Linked DNA regions of Homo sapiens: all the other regions are linked to region 2. The links are contacts of gene promoters, found by promoter capture Hi-C in blood cells and fetal thymus (Javierre and others, 2016). All regions are on one chromosome and are shown on one strand. The core of a region is centred on a gene start or on the middle of the fragment in contact, and the rest is flanking DNA. Distances in the headings are between cores, read along the strand shown. Region 1 overlaps COBL (cordon-bleu WH2 repeat protein). Region 2 holds the start of SPMIP7 (sperm microtubule inner protein 7). Region 3 overlaps COBL (cordon-bleu WH2 repeat protein).

The links. Contacts are between HindIII fragments. The CHiCAGO score rates a contact against its expected background, and 5 or more counts as called.
Region 1: a fragment that was not itself captured here is called in contact with the fragment with the promoter of SPMIP7 in region 2 in 1 of 17 cell types (endothelial precursors); the score reaches 7.4 in endothelial precursors.
Region 3: a fragment that was not itself captured here is called in contact with the fragment with the promoter of SPMIP7 in region 2 in 4 of 17 cell types (naive CD4 T cells, fetal thymus, activated CD4 T cells and 1 more); the score reaches 6.7 in naive CD4 T cells.

The regions. Positions count from the first base shown.
Region 1 is chr7:51,284,057-51,287,869 of GRCh38, forward strand. All of the region lies in intron 1 of COBL (cordon-bleu WH2 repeat protein), which reads right to left. Among named protein-coding and RNA genes, the nearest start is that of COBL, 31 kb to the right of the region's middle. The HindIII fragment of the contact is 2,514 bases long and covers 812-3,325 here.
Region 2 is chr7:50,094,182-50,097,935 of GRCh38, forward strand. It overlaps SPMIP7 (sperm microtubule inner protein 7), which reads left to right and starts at 1,702. Exons shown (of 9, transcript NM_001161834.3): 1 at 1,702-2,457. The coding sequence starts at 1,905. LOC124901630 (a long non-coding RNA gene) reads left to right here. Exons shown (of 2, transcript XR_007060321.1): 2 at 1-160. The HindIII fragment of the contact is 3,144 bases long and covers 1-2,721 here.
Region 3 is chr7:51,109,275-51,112,774 of GRCh38, forward strand. The region is part of intron 6 of COBL (cordon-bleu WH2 repeat protein); the gene reads right to left. Among named protein-coding and RNA genes, the nearest start is that of COBL, 210 kb to the right of the region's middle. RefSeq lists an enhancer at 1,930-2,431. The HindIII fragment of the contact is 1,394 bases long and covers 766-2,159 here.

The sequences.
Region 1 (3,813 bases), core at 819-3,318, 1.2 Mb after region 2:
GGGCGGATCACAAAGTCAGGAGATCGAGACCATCCTGGCTAACAGAGTGAAACCTCGTCTCTACCAAAAATACAAAAAAAAAAAAAAAAAAAAAAAGCACTAGGCATGGTGGCGGGTGCCTGTAGTCCCAGCTACTCGGGAGGCTGAGGCAGGAGAATGGTGTGAACCTGGGAGGCAGAGCTTGCAGTGAGCAGAGATTGCGCCACTGCACTCCAGCCTGGGCAACAGAGCAAGACTCCGTCTCAAAAAAAAAAGAAAAAAGAATAATACACTACAATCAAGGAGGTTTAATCTCAGGAATGCAAGGCTGGTTCAATATTTGAAAATCAGTTCATGTAATTCACCATACTGACAGTTTAAAGAAGAAAAATCACATGCGTGTATCAATCAAAGCAAAGACAAGCATTTGATATAATTCAGTATCAACAAGTCTCAGTAAATTAGAAATAAAAAAAAAAAACTTCCTAAGCCTATTAAACTATAGCTATAAGGCCAGGCATGGTGGCTCATGCCTGTAATCCCAGCACTTTGGGAGGCCGAGGCAGGTGGATCATGAGGTCAGGAGTTCGAGACCAGCCTGGCCAACATAGTGAAACCCCATCACTACTAAAAATACAAAAATTAGCTGGGCATGGTGGCATGCATCTGTACTCCCAGCTACTCAGGAGGCTGAGGCAGGAGAATCACTTGAACCCAGGAGGCAGAGGTTGTGGTGAGCCAAGATCGTACCACTGCACTCCAGCCTGGGCAACAAAGCAAGACTCCGTCTCAAAAAAAAAAAAAGGTATAAAAAAACCTACCTCCAATATCAAGCTTCACAAAGAAAGACTGAATGTTTTCCCCTAAGATCAGGAACAAGGTAAGAGTGTGTATTCTCACTACTTCCATCCAACTTTTTTTTTTTTTTTTGAGACAGAGTCTTGGTCTGTCACCCAGGCTAGAGTGCAGTGGCACAATCTTGGCTCACTGCAACCTCTACCTCCTGGTTTTAAGCAAATCTCTGCCTCAGACTCCTAAGTAGCTGGGAAAACAGGAGCGTGCCAGCACACCTGGCTAATTTTTGTATTTTTAGTACAGACAGGGTTTCAACATCTTGGCCAGGCTGGTCTTGAACTCCTGACCTCGTGATCCACCCGCCTCAGCCTCCTAAAGTGCTGGGATTACAGGCATAAGCCACCGTGCCCAGCTATTCAACTTCTTACTGGAAATCTACACTGTACAATAAGAAGAGAAAAACAAATAAAAGGCATCAAATTTGGACAGAGAGAAATAAACCACACCTTTTTTCTAGACATACATAGCAAATCCCAAGGAATCTGCAAAGAAAAAAAAAAAAAGCAAAAATCCTCACAGAATTGATAGAGTTTAAAGCAAGCTCATGGAATACAAAGTCAACACACAAAAATCAAGTATATTTCTATACTAACAATCCATAATTAGGAATTAAAATTTTAAAATGCCATTTACAAACATCTACCAAAAAAGTAAAGTATTTAGGTATAAGTCTAGTTGACATGGGTAAGATTGTATGCTGAGAACTACAAAACACTGGTTAATGAAATCAAAGAAAACCTAGAAAAATGGAGAGACATATATTCATTGGTCAGACGACTCAAATTGATTTACAGATTTAACAAAATTTCAAATTCTCAGCATGGCTGTTTTTGTAGACATAGACAAACTGATCTGAAAATTTATATGGAAAGGCAAAGAAATGAGAAGAGCCAAACTAATTTTGAAAAATAAGAATGTTGGAGGAATCACATTACATAGCCTTAAGACTTACTATAAAGCTACAGTATTCAAGATAGTGTGATATTGGTGAAGCAACAGTTATAAATCAATTAAACAAGACTGACAATCAAGAAATAGATCCACATAAATATATTCAAGTGATTTTTTATGAAGGTGTAAAGGCAATTAAATAGACGAAAGACAGTCTTTTCAACAAATGGTATTATAACAATTGGATACCCTATGCCAAAGAAAAATGAGAAGTAGCAGAAGAACTTCGACCTAAGTCACATGCCTTATACAACAATTAACTCAAAATGGACCACTGATCTAAATGGAAAAGTAAAGGTATAAAACCTTCAGAAGAAACATCCAAGAAAATATTCATGGCCTGGGTTAGGCAAGAGTTCCTAGATATGGTGCCTAAATCATGTCTAGAGCATAAAGTTTAAAAAAAAAAAAAAGCTGTACTTCTTCATAATTAAAATTTTCTACTCTTCCAAAGACACTGCTAAAGAATAAAAACACAAGATACTGACTGAAAAAAAAAAATCTGCAAATCACATATGACCTAGGAGCTGTATCCACATTATATAAAGAAACTTCAAGTAACTAAAAAAAAAAAAGCAAAAAAAAATCTAATTTTAAAATGGCAAAGGACATGAACAGATACTTCTTAAAATAAAATATCCAAACAGCCAAGAAACATATGAAAAAACTGTTCATCATCATTAATCATCAGAGAAATGCAAATCAAAACCACAATGAGATGCCATCTCACACTAGTCAGGACGGTGATTATCAAAAAGTCAAAAAATAACAGATGTTGGTGAGACTGTAGAGAAAGGGGAATACATACACTGTTGATGGGAATGCAAATTAGTTCAGCCACTGTGGAAAGTAGTTTAGAGATTTCTCAAAGAACTTAAGCATAACTACCATTCAATGAAGCAATCCCATTACTGGATATATATCCAAAGGAAAAGAAACCATTGTGCCAAAAAGACACATGCCACTCATATGTTCACTGCAACACTATTCACAATAGGAAAGACATGGAATCAACCTAAGTGCCCATCAATGGTGGACTGGATTAAAAAAATATGGTACATATACACCATCGAATACTACACAGCCATAAAAAAGAATTAAATCATGTCCTTTGCAGCAACATGGATGCAGCTGGATGCCACTATCCTAAGTGAATTAATGCAGGAACAGAAAACCAAATACTGCATGTTGTTACTTACAAGCGGGAGCTAAACATTGAGTACACATGGACACAAAGATGGGAACAACAGACACTGGCGATGTTGGAGGTGGGGAGGAAAGGAGAGGAGCATGGGTACCACACTCACTACCTGGATAATAGGATCAGCCATTCCCCAAACCTCAGCATCCCGCAATATACCCATGTAACAAAACTGCATATGAACCCTCTTATTCCAAAATAAAAGTTGAAAAATCAAAAAATAAAAACAATCCCACAGAATAAGAAAACAAACAACCCTTTGAAAAACAGGCAAAAGACTTAAAAGACAGGCAAAAGATTTCCCCCAAAAAGACATATGGATGGTAAATAAACACATAAAGCTTCGCCATCGTTAGCCTTTAGGTAAATGCAAGTTAAAACCATGATGTAATACTAATATATAAGAATAGCTAAAATGAAACAATCTTAAAAATATCAAGTGCTGGTGAGGATACAAAGCAATTGGAGCTCTCATGCACTGCTGGTGGGAATGCAAAATGGTACAGACACTCTGGGAAACCATTTGGCAATTTCCTAAAATGTTAAACACTTTATGCATATAGTTATGACCCAGCACTCCCACTCCTGGGTATTTACCCTAAAGAAATGAAACTGTAGGTTCACACAAACACCTGTACATGAATGTTTATAGCAGCTCTATTCACACTCACAAAACACTGGAGAAAACCCAGATGTCCTGCAATGGGTGGATGGGTAAACAAACAGTGGTGGACCCATATGATAGAAGATGACTCTGCATAATAACTGGGCTACAAAGTGAGACTCTGTCTCAAAAAAAAAGAAAAAAAAATGAATGAACTACTGAC
Region 2 (3,754 bases), core at 452-2,951:
GTCCTTTTCCTTTGTCACATCTCTAAAAATTTCCTAGTCTTTGTTGAAGATGCTATACAAGCTGGAATTCAAAGACGCTTCTTTGAGAACTACTCATTCTCTGGGTGTTCCTCATATATAAATGAAATATATTAATAAACATCTGTTTTTCTCTTGTTAATCTGTCTCTTGTAAAGGATCCATTCTAAGTACAAAGTTATGGGGGTTATTATTTTCCCATACACAGCCTAAGAGGCCATTTATAGCTAGAACTTGTTTTAGAGAAATTGAAAGAGACTCATGCCTCTACTTTTCTGCTGCTGGAAGGATTTACTTAATGGGAGCAGAGCTGTGATAGAAATAAATCTTAAGCAGTTGGTTTAAATACATTGAAGAATGAAGTTTGAGCAACTAAATGTAGAATGCCTAATTACAAGTGAGTTATCACTTTTGATATGAAGAAATGAGTGATCATGGGTGGACTAAAAACTGTCACTTGATATGCTATGATCTGGATGAAGGATTTAAAACTGACAGCCTAACCACCTAATTTAATCTCACTTGTTTAATAGTATATCTCAAAATTGTAAAGACTTTCAATGGGGCATAGGCATTCTGATTGTACCAAACATATCACCCTTGACAGTTGGCCTGATTAACGATTATGTGCCTGACTCTTCAAAGCTAGAATCTTGCCTGTTTTAACATTTTTGCTGCAGTAAGGATGATGTGAACTTTTACCCCAAATTCTAATATTTGCATTTCCTCTTATAGTAGTTCATGCAAGATGAAATTATCCAGGTGAAAGAGCTTTTAAGTGAACCAATACATTAGTGATTTAAATGATATTTTGTGTGTAGACAGTTAACTGATACCCATTGTGGTTTCCTAAAATGAACTTAAAACTCTTACTGTTCTTACTCTGGACACCATGGCAAATTTAAGGGAAGTAAAGATAATTTAGGGCATGTAAAGATGTACCTGTACTTTCATTATAATTTTCTGTTTTTCTTAAAAATTAGATATACTAGGGCTGGGCACAGTGGCTCACACCTGTAATCCCAGCACTTTGGGAGGCCGAGGCGGGCAGATCACAAGGTCAGGAGATCGAGACCATCCTGGCTAACACAGTGAAACCCCATCTCTACTAAAAATACAAAAAATTAGCCGGGCATGGTGGCGGGCGCCTGCAGTCCCAGCTGCTTGGGAGGCTGAGGCAGGAGAATGGCGTGAACCTGGGAGGCGGAGCTTGCAGTGAGCCAAGATCACACCACTGCACTCCAGCCTAGGCGACAGAGTGAGACTCCACCAAAAAAAAAAAATTAGATGTACCAATTTAACTTTAGTAATGTTTATATTTTGTAGTGCATTTAGATTTACATTTAATTAGATAGCAAGTGTTATATATATAAATACTTAATTGTAGTCACATATATACTTTTGAGAAATGTATTGTCACTGAATTAACTGCTTTATTTACACTCCTTAAATATATTTTATACCCATAAAATACCAACTTATGGAAAAATTTTAAAATAAGTAAATGAACACAGCTTTCCTGAGCACTGGGGAGAAAAGTATCATGGAAATATTAGTACCAAGGCTATTTTTGTTTTTCTTAAGAATTGTGATGTACATAATAAATGGTTCAATGTGTTAAGAATTCTAGCCGTTGCCAGGCAACAAGGGCTCTGCTTTATTCTCCTTATGTCATGTTCCTTCATTGCCCTATTCTTCCTTTGGTGGAGGAAAATATTTGCCTTAAAAAGAAAAACAAAATTATCTGCCAACATTTAGAAAGCTGTGTCAATTTTATACTAGTTTAACACAGATCTTTAGTTATTGGCAATAGAGTTTATATAGTTAAATATAAAGGAATTATCAGAAATACTTTATAGTTATCAAAAATTCTAAAGAAAAAGGCCATGGATGTAGAAATTCAGGACACACCTGGAAAGATAAGTATCTCTAAAAGGTCCATCCTTTCAGGAACTGTTGAGAATATAGATTACCCACACTATTGTGATCTCTTAAGAAAAATGAACATGCCTTTTGTGAAAGGTCTTGAGAACAGACATAACTATGGCAGGTTTGAAAAGAAATGCAACCCTGCTTTTCTTAAATTTCACCCTTATCCCCCTTCAGTTTTGCCAGACTATCATTTACATGATCCTTATCCCCCACCATATGGGCCACATTATCCATTATTTCCACTTCGGGATGATGTGACCTTAGGTGATTCCTGTTCAGGGTTTATGAGTCCTGGTGGTGATGCTGATTTAAATCCTGGCATTGGCAGAACCATACCAACCCTAGTGGATTTTAGTGATGTGAAACCTCAACATCGAGTTCCCAGACCAGACACAGGATTTCAAACAACAATAAAAAGGCAAAAAATTCTATCAGAAGAACTGCAACAGAACAGGAGATGGAATTCCAGGGAAGTACCAGACATTTCTATCAGAGCAAGACTTGGAGGTAAATGAAGTGACATGAACTTTCTATTTTTTAAATGCTCAAGGGAAGAGAGTATGGACATAAGATTCAATATTTAGGCAGTTAAATTAACAAAATTACAATGATCTGAAAAAGGTTTTATTTTTAAATTACAGATTATAAGAAACAAAGGAATGATAAACCTTATAAACTTATTTGTAAAAGAAAATTTATTCTTTAAGAAAAGAACATTCATTAGTGATTAACACAAAGTATATAACATTATTTATTCTAGATATATGGATAAGCTTGTTTTACCACAGGGGAATTTATGTATCACTTTGATAATTGTATAGAAATCCTCCTTATCTGTCTCTCTCCTTTGAAAGAATGAATTCACTGATATTATGAAAGAGTTAGTTTTAAGGATTGAAATAAAATGGGAAAAATTTAAGTACTTGAACGTACATTTTTTGGCTCCAATAAGAACAGAAGCTGAAATGAAGCAAACTCTGCATAAATAGCTCCACAGCCATGGAGGCAGGTTTGATGACCTCTTACTGACATCTGCACCATGTGGTTTCTCTGTAAGAACTCCTGTAAATGGAGTTCCTCTAAATGATGAGAAACACCTCCAAAGGAAAGCCACAGGTACTATTTTCTGTATAAAAGCTGTCTGGCAGGCAGGAATGTAAAAAGATCAACATTTTTAGCATCGGAAAAGGAAAGGGCCAAATGCTATAGGAAGAATACTTTTAAACATTATTCTAAGAAATTATAGGTTGAAGAAATGGCTTAGCAAAGCTAACATAGGGCTAAAATGGTGTTAACAGACTTTGTACCACCAAGTCAGAACCAAGTATAGAGCTCATCTGTCCCATGTATTTCACTGCCTGAATCAGTGAAACAGAGGAGTTTAGAGAACAGGCTTTAGACTCAGACTGTCTGGCCTTGAGCTCTGGCAAAAACTCAGTTGCTGTACGACCCAGGGCTAGTTACTATTCTCTTTATGCCTGTGTATCCTTACTTGTAAAACTCACCTAAGAGTAAAACTTCATAAGATAATAAGTAAGGGTCATTTTATGTTAAAAAAAAAAAAAAACTCACCTAAGAGTGAAACTTCGTAAGATAATAAGTAAGGGCCATTTTATGTAAAAATACCTAAAATAAAGAATAAATGTCAGATTGTAAGAAGTCCAAAATTTTCAGTTTCTTCATACATAAATTAGGAATAATCTTACTTCTTTTATACATTTGTAAGAATCAAATGAATTAACACTTGTAAAGTGCTTAGCAGAATCCCTGAAACCTGATAAAACATTTCATTAATAGTAGCTCT
Region 3 (3,500 bases), core at 213-2,712, 1.0 Mb after region 2:
CATTTTCAAACCACCTGTGTGAATGCACCACCCTGTGAGCTCCAGACAACTGCCAGTGCGGTTCCTGTAGACATTTCAGCTCCAACTGGTTCTGCATCATCATCTGCATCTGCGGACCCTTCTGGATAATCTTTAAAGGTTGGATTCTTTGCCACTTCCATCTCGCTCGCCACCTTCACTGCACTGCTCCTGAAGCACCTCAGTTCTTGCTGTGACAGTCCTAAAATCCCATCTCCCTCCTTGCCCCCCACCCCTGGCTACCCCTGCTTTTATTCAGGCCCTTTGCATTTCCTGCCTGAGTTATCTTAAATGCTTCTTCCCTCTCTGTCGTTCTGTCTCTCAGAGTCAGTTACCACTGTGCTACCAGGCTCGATCACTCATTTATTTCTCAAAAATTTTACTAAAAAAACTGACTACATGCCAGGCACTGTTCTCCACAAAGGAAGGGGAGCCTCAAAAAAGACAGCAAACTCCTTCCCTGCACTCACAGAATGTATGTCTCGTGAGGGGAAGACAGAAAGAAACCACTGCATCATGTTAGTAGTGCCACCTTCCACAGAAACGAAAGGCAGCCACATGTTTCCGTGGCTGAGGATGGAGCGCTGAGGCAGTGAAAGAAACAGGCCACCTGTGCAAAGGTACGAGGAAGAATGACACAGGCGAGAGCAAGGGGATGGAAACTGCTTGGCCTCTTCTTTTTTCTTTAAAAAAATTGATACATAATAATTGTACATATTTATGGGGTACATGTGGTATTTTGATACAAGCTTACAATGTGTAATAATCAAACCAGGGTAATTGGGATATCTTTAACCTCAAACATTTAGCATTTCTTTGTATTGTAAACATTTAAAATCTTTTCTATTTCAAACTATACAATAGTTATTGTTAACAATAGTCATCCGACTATGCTACCAAACACTAGAACTTATTCCTTCGACCTAATTGAACTTTTATATCCATTAAGCATTCCCTCTTCCTCCCTCTCCCCTCCACCCTGCGCAGCCTCTGGTAACCACCAATCTACTCTCTACCTTCATGAGATCCACTTTTTTAGCTCCCACGTAAGAGTGAGAACCTGCATTATTTCTCCTTCTGTGCCTGGTTTATTTCACTTAATATAATGGCCTCCAGTTCCATCCATGTCGCTGTAAATGACAGGATTTCATTTTTTCCTTTATAGCAGAATAGTACTCTATTGTGTATATATACCACATCTTCTCTAACCATTCATCCGCTGACGGACACTTAGGTTGATTCCATATCTTTATTTTATTTTTCAATAAGTTATCGGGGTACAGGTGGTATTTGGTTACATAAGTTCTTCAGTTGTGATCTGTGAGGTTTTGGTACACCCATCACCCAAGCGGTATATACTGCACCATATTTGTTGTCTTTTATCCCTTAACCAACCTTCCACTCTTGCCCACAAGTCCCCAAAGTCCACTGTATCATTCTTATGCCTTTGTGTCCTCATAGCTTAGCTCCCACATATCAGTGAGAACATACGATGTTTGGTTTTCCATTCCTGAGTTACTTCACTTACAATCATAGTCTCCAATCTCATCCAGGTCACTGCAAATGCTGTTAATTTATTCCTTTTTATGACTGCATAGTATTCCATCATATGTATATAGCACAGTTTCTTTATCCACTCATTGATCGATGGGCATTTGGGTTGGTTCCACGATTTTGCAATTGTGAATTGTGCTGCTATAAACATGCGTGTGCAAGTATCTTTTTCGAATAATGACTTCTTTTCCTCTGGGTAGATGCCCAGTAGTGGGATTGCTGGATCAAATGGTAGTTCTACTTTTAGTTCTTTAAGGTGATACCATATCTTGACTACTGTGAATAATGCTGCAATAAACATGGGGGTGCAGACATCTCTTCAACATACTAATTTCATTTCTTTTGGATAAATACCTAGTGGTGGGATTGCTGCATCATTTAGGTTTTTGAGGAACCCCCATACTATTTTTCATAATGGCTATACTAACTTACATTCCCACCAAGAGTGCATAAGCATCCCCTTTCTCCATATCCTTGCCAGCATTTGCTTTTTCTCTCTTTGATAACAAGCCCTTCTAACTTGGCCTTTTACATACTACAAGAGGAACAGATGGGAGGCCAGTATGGCATTATTGGCATTGGAAAGAAGCTTGGTTTGTATTCACTGTCACTAGCTGCATAATTGTAAGCAGGATCCTACTCAAATGGTGTGTGCAGTGTGGCATCCTGCTCTTCCAGTGGCCCTGATTCTCCCCGCCGGCCCCACCTCAGCCTCAGCACGGAGTGTCCTCTCTCGCTGAACTGTCCTGTCCTCACGACCCATCCATCCTTCAAGGCCCATCTCAATACTACATGTCACAGAAAAGAAACAGCTGCCTCTCCCCCGTGCCTGGGCCCCTGCATGCTCCTTGACTTCATGGTAACATCTGTGTATCTTCTTAGACGGGGCCTCCTCAATACCAGGAGGAGCTGTATCCATCTGTGCTGCTCAGCACTGTGCAGTGCCAGCCAGGGCATGTGATGGGCCCCAGCAAGTGTTCACAACTAGGAGATTAAATGAGTGCATTTCTGAATGGCAAGACTGGGCAGAAAGGGCCTGTGTACATAATGCGATTTATTTATTTTACTCTCTTAACACTTACTTCACAGGGACATATGGTAAAGTGTGTTCCTAGGAAGAGGTGAAGATTAGGTAATATCCTCATCAATATCATCAAAGGAATCCAGTTCACTTGCATGGCACGGGGACCACTAAGAACAAGTCCAGGCAATTTTCAGGTGGATGTCTATTTCTATTTTTACTAAAGACTCCCACACACATAACAGTCAACTGTACAAGGCTTGGAAACAATTTAATGGTTGCAAAAGCATAAGAGAGGAGAAACTAGAATGCCATGAAGTGGGATTACAAAGTAGATTCTGTACATAGAGTAAGTATCTTTGCTATACATCAGCATTTCTATTCCAATTCATCACTGATGGAAATTGTATTGCTCTCCTCAGTGTCCTGTGGATTATTTTTATTTTTTGCCCTAAAGAAACATTGGAAGCAAAGGACCACAGAGAACTTCTAAGATATGGACCATTTAAAAATATATAGTTTATGATTAATATGTAACTTAAAAACTACTTATTAACACAATGTTACCTCCAGAAGCAAGCAGTGCTTCATGATCAATGAGCACTGTTTCCTTTCTAAGCTCCCATTCATGTTGGGGTGTCCCTGCAGATGCATAGGTTACAATATTCACTTCTGCACACAGATCTTTCAGGGAGTTTCTACAGATCTCTTTCCTGAGCACCAGTATTTGACTAATAGCTGAAATCCTCCCCTCATTTAGGCCTTGCATGGGGTCGGCTGTCCTTTGCACCTTTGGGTCTCATCAGAAGTAAAACTAGTCTGGCCTTGCTTTGCAGTCCACAGAGGAGGGGCCCTTGGGGTCCTTGCATAAGAATGCTGGTGCCTAGGGCTTAGGTCAACGCTGCAG